Regions from separate parts of the Homo sapiens genome. Here region 2 is linked to region 1. Evidence: promoter capture Hi-C in 16 types of primary human blood cells and fetal thymus (Javierre and others, 2016). All regions are on one chromosome and are shown on one strand. Each heading gives the region's core, a stretch centred on a gene start or on the middle of the fragment in contact. The rest is flanking DNA. Distances are from core to core; before and after follow the strand shown.

What was found. The method cuts DNA at HindIII sites, captures the fragments that hold promoters and counts their contacts. A CHiCAGO score of 5 or more calls a contact.
Region 2: the fragment with the promoter of MTMR12 here is called in contact with the fragment with the promoter of PDZD2 in region 1 in 10 of 17 cell types (non-activated CD4 T cells, total CD4 T cells, activated CD4 T cells and 7 more); the score reaches 24.5 in non-activated CD4 T cells.

The regions. Positions count from the first base shown.
Region 1 is chr5:31,637,506-31,640,457 of GRCh38, reverse strand. PDZD2 (PDZ domain containing 2) reads right to left here and starts at 1,327. Exons shown (of 25, transcript NM_178140.4): 1 at 1,021-1,327. RefSeq lists a silencer at 1,024-1,373. The HindIII fragment of the contact is 6,072 bases long and covers 1-2,952 here.
Region 2 is chr5:32,311,529-32,314,228 of GRCh38, reverse strand. It overlaps MTMR12 (myotubularin related protein 12), which reads left to right and starts at 1,290. Exons shown (of 16, transcript NM_001040446.3): 1 at 1,290-1,471. The coding sequence starts at 1,391. RefSeq lists an enhancer at 822-871 and silencers at 962-1,751, 1,822-1,961. The HindIII fragment of the contact is 10,159 bases long and covers 1-2,700 here.

The sequences.
Region 1 (2,952 bases), core at 78-2,577:
CTACCTTTGGTGGAGGCAAGAGGTTAGGCCAGCTGCAGGGGACAGACTCAGACTCAGCTCCATCCCCCAACACTGCCCAACGGCCAGTCCCAGGGCAGGTCTGGAGCTCTGGAATGCCCTCGTGCCTGCCATTCCAGTCTCTGCGACCAGCCCATGCCAGACCTTGTCCTCTTCCCACTCCAGTGTCCCTTATCAAGGTCTCTGCATAGATTTGGGCTGCCGAGGACAGCTTCTGGCAAACTCCTGCCAGGGGTCCTGGACCCTCCTGCTGCTGAATTCAGCCTTGCGCTTTAATGGATTTTCCAAATAGCGGGGACCACAGGCAGCTCAAAGACTTAAAACACAAACGCAAACCCGAGGGAGGGAGAGAGGAACAGAGGGAGGGAGAAACCAGATTTTAGGAGAAACTCGACTTCAGAGAGAGAGCAGGATTTCCCTATCACTATGTTCCCCATCTCCCCGGCAGACGCCAATAACCGGCCCTAAGATGCCCTTGATCTTTGCGCGCCCCCTGCATTCCCTCGCCCCGCGTCTAACGTCTCATCTGGGCAAAGAGGCGGGGGTTGAGAGATGAAACAAGCCCGAGGGAGGATGGTCCCCAAGACATTACCTGAGGCCGGAGTACCTGAGTACCTCCACTCCTGTCGGAGGAAGGGACCAGAAGACGGCCCAGGGATGGGGACCCGGGATGCGCGCCCGAGCAGGAGGTCCCGGCCCTGTCTTGAGTACCCCCGGCAGTGCGTCTCCGGTTGTCCCGCTGTCTCGGTCCCGCTCTGTCTAGCCCCCTCCCCTGGGCTGCGCCCTCCCCGTCCCCGGCCGGATGCTAGAGGAGTTTGCGCCGCCCAACGTGGGACCCCGGTTCGGCGTCCTCACTCCCCGCCCTGCCAGGGCTGGGATTCCCGCACCCGGATTTGTAGCTAAACTTTCCTGGGCACACACGGTCTCGGGGGTGCCGGGCCTCCCCCATCCCCTGCCCACCCGGAGCCGCGCGTCCCGGCTGCAGCGGGACGGTCGCTTCACCTGCTCGCGGCTTGGCCGAGGCTCCCGCGGCTTCCTCGCGCGTCCAGACCCAGGCGCCGCCCGGCGGGTCCCCGCGCAGCTGCCGCCACCGCGGCCACCACCGGTGCCGCCGCCGCGCCTGCCCCGAGCTGCAGAGCCGCGGTTCGCCGGCAGCCGCGGGAGGCGCAATCCCGGTGCCTTGGGTTCGGCCTGCGGCTCCTCGGCTGCCTGCAGCCGCCGCCCCGCCGCGTCCCGCTGCCCGGGGCCGGCACGCACCGGCGCTGGGGTCCGCTCCTCGCCTCGCTGCGCAGGGGATCCGCCGAGCCTCCAGGATGGGCGGGGATTCCCTCCCCCTGGTTGATTCGAGGGGCGGGAACTCCCTTCCCCGAGTGACAGGGACGGGGGGCGGGGATTCCCCTGCAGGAATAACAAGGTGGGCGGGGATTTCCCCGAGCGAGCCCCGCCGCGGGCAAGGCGTCTCTCTGGGTGAGCCAGGAGTCCTGGTGCGCCCGCTTCAGAAACCTGGGGATCGTGGGAGGAAGGCATCCAGGGAGATGGCTGCTCCGAATCTCCATACAGGCGGGGCTTAGGGCGCCATCTAGGTGGAACAGAGCGAGCTAGGGGACGTGAAGTTGCCTCTGCATAGCACTTTACACAGCAAAGAGAAAAATGTCAGTTACCTTATCAAAGAATGGGGCGGAGGGGCCACAGGAGATGGGGGAAGAGCTAACCACTCACCCCAAGCTACCCTTAGCCTCTGGTCCTTGGGATACCAAAGGTAATTTAGCACTGGTACGAGGATTTCGGGGAGAGGGGACCTCTTGGCACCTCAGAGCTGCTTAATCCCCCAGTTAAGCCCCTGGGGGGGAATCCCATGGCCCTGGGGTGGTGGTTTTGGTCCCATGAGCACTAGCCACGAGCTCCTGCCGAGTGGACTGTGAGAGCTAATGCCAGCCGCCCTTGGCTCCCGTCCAGGTCACTCGAGGAACCGAGCCTCAGGCTTTTGGGATCCTTCATTCCGGTGGATTTTCAGGAAGGCCTTCAAATATTTTTGGTTCTTTTTTTGTCATCCTTGTCATTCTGCCTACCAAAGGGAGAGGATGATAAGAACATAATAGGAAGACTGCACAGCTCTGCAAATTAAGCTCTCTTAAGAGGAAAAAGCTGGTCTTTTTCAAGTGCTGGCAGATAAGAGTAAAAACATATGAAAAATTGCAAAACCTGGGATAATGAATAGTTGAATAATGCTTTTGACATTTTCTACAGAACAGTAATTGGAAATCTTTGCTTTCGGGGGGATGGGGATGGGACAGGGCAGGCCCCAGCTGCAGTTCTGCCCAGCAAGGCAATAAACTCTGGCCTCTCCGAAAAGCAGGCAGACATAAATCACCTGCGCAGACCGGACAGCGCTGTCCCACCACACCAGAGACCAGAGTGGGCCCAAGGCATTTGGAGGTGGTATTGTCCTCAGGGGCTGGGGTGGAGAAGTTCTTGATTTCAGCTGTTCTTCAGCTTTTATAATTACCAGGCCATTGAGATCAATGCTTGCACAAATCCAAGCATCGTATATGACAAGCTGGGCACTCAGGCACTCAGAGCTTCTCTTCCTATGTGTAAATAGAGAAAACACCTACCATGCAGGATTGCTGGAACTAGCAGTAACACAGCTATTCAGCACAGCACTTAGGAGGTGCTCAATGAAATGGTAACCATTATCAATGAAAGGTATCATTGGGACACTACAAAAAAATCCTTCTAGAAGGATCAAACAGGGCTGGTGCTTTCTGTTTTTTCCACAATCCCAGGCCCATCTTCCACCACTCTGTCCCGTGTTTTCTCAGCCTCTGTACCCAGCACATACCTTGGGCCTACCTCCCTCAGCACCAATGAAAAGTTTGCTGAATCAATGAATATGCAAATAAATGTATCACTCAAACTGTAGTCACTGCTATT
Region 2 (2,700 bases), core at 41-2,540, 670 kb before region 1:
TTTTAGTAGAGATAGGGTTTCTCCATGTTGGCCAGGCTGGTCTCAAACTCCTGACTTCAGATGATCCACCCGCCTCGGCCTCCCAAAGTGCTGGGATTAGAGGCGTGAGTCATCGTTTGTCTCATTTTTGTTTACATTTAAAATAATAAACCTTGAGGTCGGGCGCGGTGGCTCACGCCTGTAATCCCAGCACTTCGGGAGGCCGAAGCGGGTGGATCATCTGAAGTCAGGAGTTTGAGACCAGCCTGGCCAACATGGTGAAACCCCCGTCTCCATTAAAAATACAAAAATTAGCGGCATGGCGCGGTGGCTCATGCCTCTAATCCCAACACTTTGGGAGGCTGAGGCGGGCGGATCACGAGGTTAGGGGTTTGAGACTAGCCTGGCCAACATGGTGAAACCCCGTCTCTACTAAAAATACAAAAATTAGCCGGGTGTGATGGCAGGCGCCTATAATCCCAGCTACTCGGGAGGCTGAGGCAGGAGAATCGCTTGAACCTGGGAGGCAGAGGTTGCAGTGAGCCTATACTACGCCATTGCACTCAAGCCTGGGCGACAGAACGACACACACACACACACACACACACACACACAAAATTAGCTGGATATAGTGGCGGGCGCCTGTAATCCCAGCTACTCAGGAGGCTGAGGCAAGAGAATCGCTTGAACCTGGGAGACGGAGGTTGCAATGAGCAGAGATCGCGCCATTGCACTCCAGCCTGGGCGACAAGAGCAAAACTCCGTCTCAAAAGTAAATAATAATAAAATAAAAAACCTTGAACGTCATCGCTGTAAGTTGGGAACTCCTATAGCAAGATTCCATACATCCCATTTTTGGACGTTTTATTCCAAAGACACAAGCAAACGGAAGAAAACGACTGCCGTGAACCCCTGCTAACGACAACTTGGTGACTGCAGGATCATTGGACGACGGTTTTATCCTCGCCATCCAATCGTTGGAAAGTCCGGAGAGAACGCTCTCTGGATTGGTTGGAGGAAACATCTCTCCAAGTGCACTCAAGAATGGGTTGGGAGCGGGGTTCGGCCGGCAGCGCCTCGGGCCAATCAGAGAAAGCATGAGGGCGGGCTCTGCCGCAGGAAGGTGGTGAATCTCGGCGGGTCAAACTCTCCTGACGTGATGGGGGGGCGTGGCCTCCAGTTGCGGTCTCCCGGCTCTCTGGGCCCGCGCACGGGATGGGCGGGGCCCACGGGCCTGGGCGGGGCGAGCGGTGTCAGCGGCGGAGCCGGATGCGGGCGGCATCGCGGCGGTCGCGGCCTTGGGGATGGGCGGAGCCCCAGCCGCTAGTGCTGGTGGCCGCCGCTGCTGCCCCAGCTGGAGCCCGAGCCGCCGCCTCTGCGTCCGCGCGTCGCTGCTTCCCAGGGCGGCGGTATGCTGGGGAAAGGAGTAGTCGGCGGTGGCGGCGGCACCAAGGCCCCCAAGCCCTCCTTCGTGTCGTACGTACGCCCTGAGGTGAGGGGGCGCCGCGCAGGCGGGGCGTCGGGCAGGGGCGGCCGGGGCGAGGGGCGCCGGGAGCCCCTTCCTTGCAGCGGGGAGCGCCGCGGAGCGCTTCCTGCCCTTGTGCCGGGCGACGGGGCAGCCAGGCGGGCTGAGGCCGCAGGAGCGCGCTGGGGCCTCCGCGCGGGCCGGAATGGGGACCCCGGCGCAGGCAGGCAGGTGCCTGAGCGCAGGGCCCGAGCGCTGGAGGCTGGTGGAGGGGCCCGAGCCGAGAAGGGATTGCGGCCCGGAACGCCCCTGGGGATTCTGGAGAGGACCTGGGGTTGTGGGCACTGCTGGGAGGGGTAGGGCCGTGGGTCGGAGCCCCCAACGGGGCCTGCTCGGAGCCCGCGTGGGTCCGTCCTGCCTCTGGACTTTCTCAGTGAGCCCAGAAGCCCGCCGGCCTCCGCTGCCTGCGTCTGAGTGCCTCGGGTGCGGCTGGCGGGATGCCCTGCACCTACGTCCGCCTCCCGTCAGCGCTGCGGGGAGAAAAGGGGGTCGGCCTGGCCTCAGCCAGTCTCTGCTTGTCTCTCCCTTGGGAATTCTCCGCTGTCGCTTCTTTCTCCTCATCCCCTCACCATCATCCTTTCCACCCACTTCTTACTCTTCTGAATCTTCAGGTCAAGAAATTTGTTCATTCATTCAGAAAATACTTCTCGAGCTCCTACTGTGTGTCAGGCACTAAGTGCTTGTGATAGACATCAGTGAACAGGACAGAGATCTCTGCATTCCTGGAGCTTATTTGAGGGGGAAAGGAGAAACGGGGTGAATTATAGATAATTAAGTAAATTATACGGTGTAGTAGGAGGTGATAAATATCATGGGAAAGAAAAGAAATCTTTTTCCTCCTCGCAAAGGTGGCATTTGAGCCGAGACTTGAAGATACGAGAGGTCTGAGAGAAGAGTCGTCCAGGTAGAGGGAACAGCCCCCGGGAAGGTCGTGAGGTGGGAGTGTGTCTGAAGGGTTGGCGGAGCGTCAAGGAAGCCAGCATGGCAGAGGCCCATGGACAAGGGGGACAGTCATAGGAGAGGAGGTTAGAGAGATCAGAACTTGTAGGCCTTGCTCAGGGCTTCTTGAGCAATAGTTCTTAATCCAAATGCCTAATGAGAAGCCTTCTTGTTTTGCATCTGTAAAGGTTTTTTTCTGCCCTTCTCTCCAGCAGAAGTGCAGAAGCACCGCCAAATTTGTTGCAGATGTCTTCCCA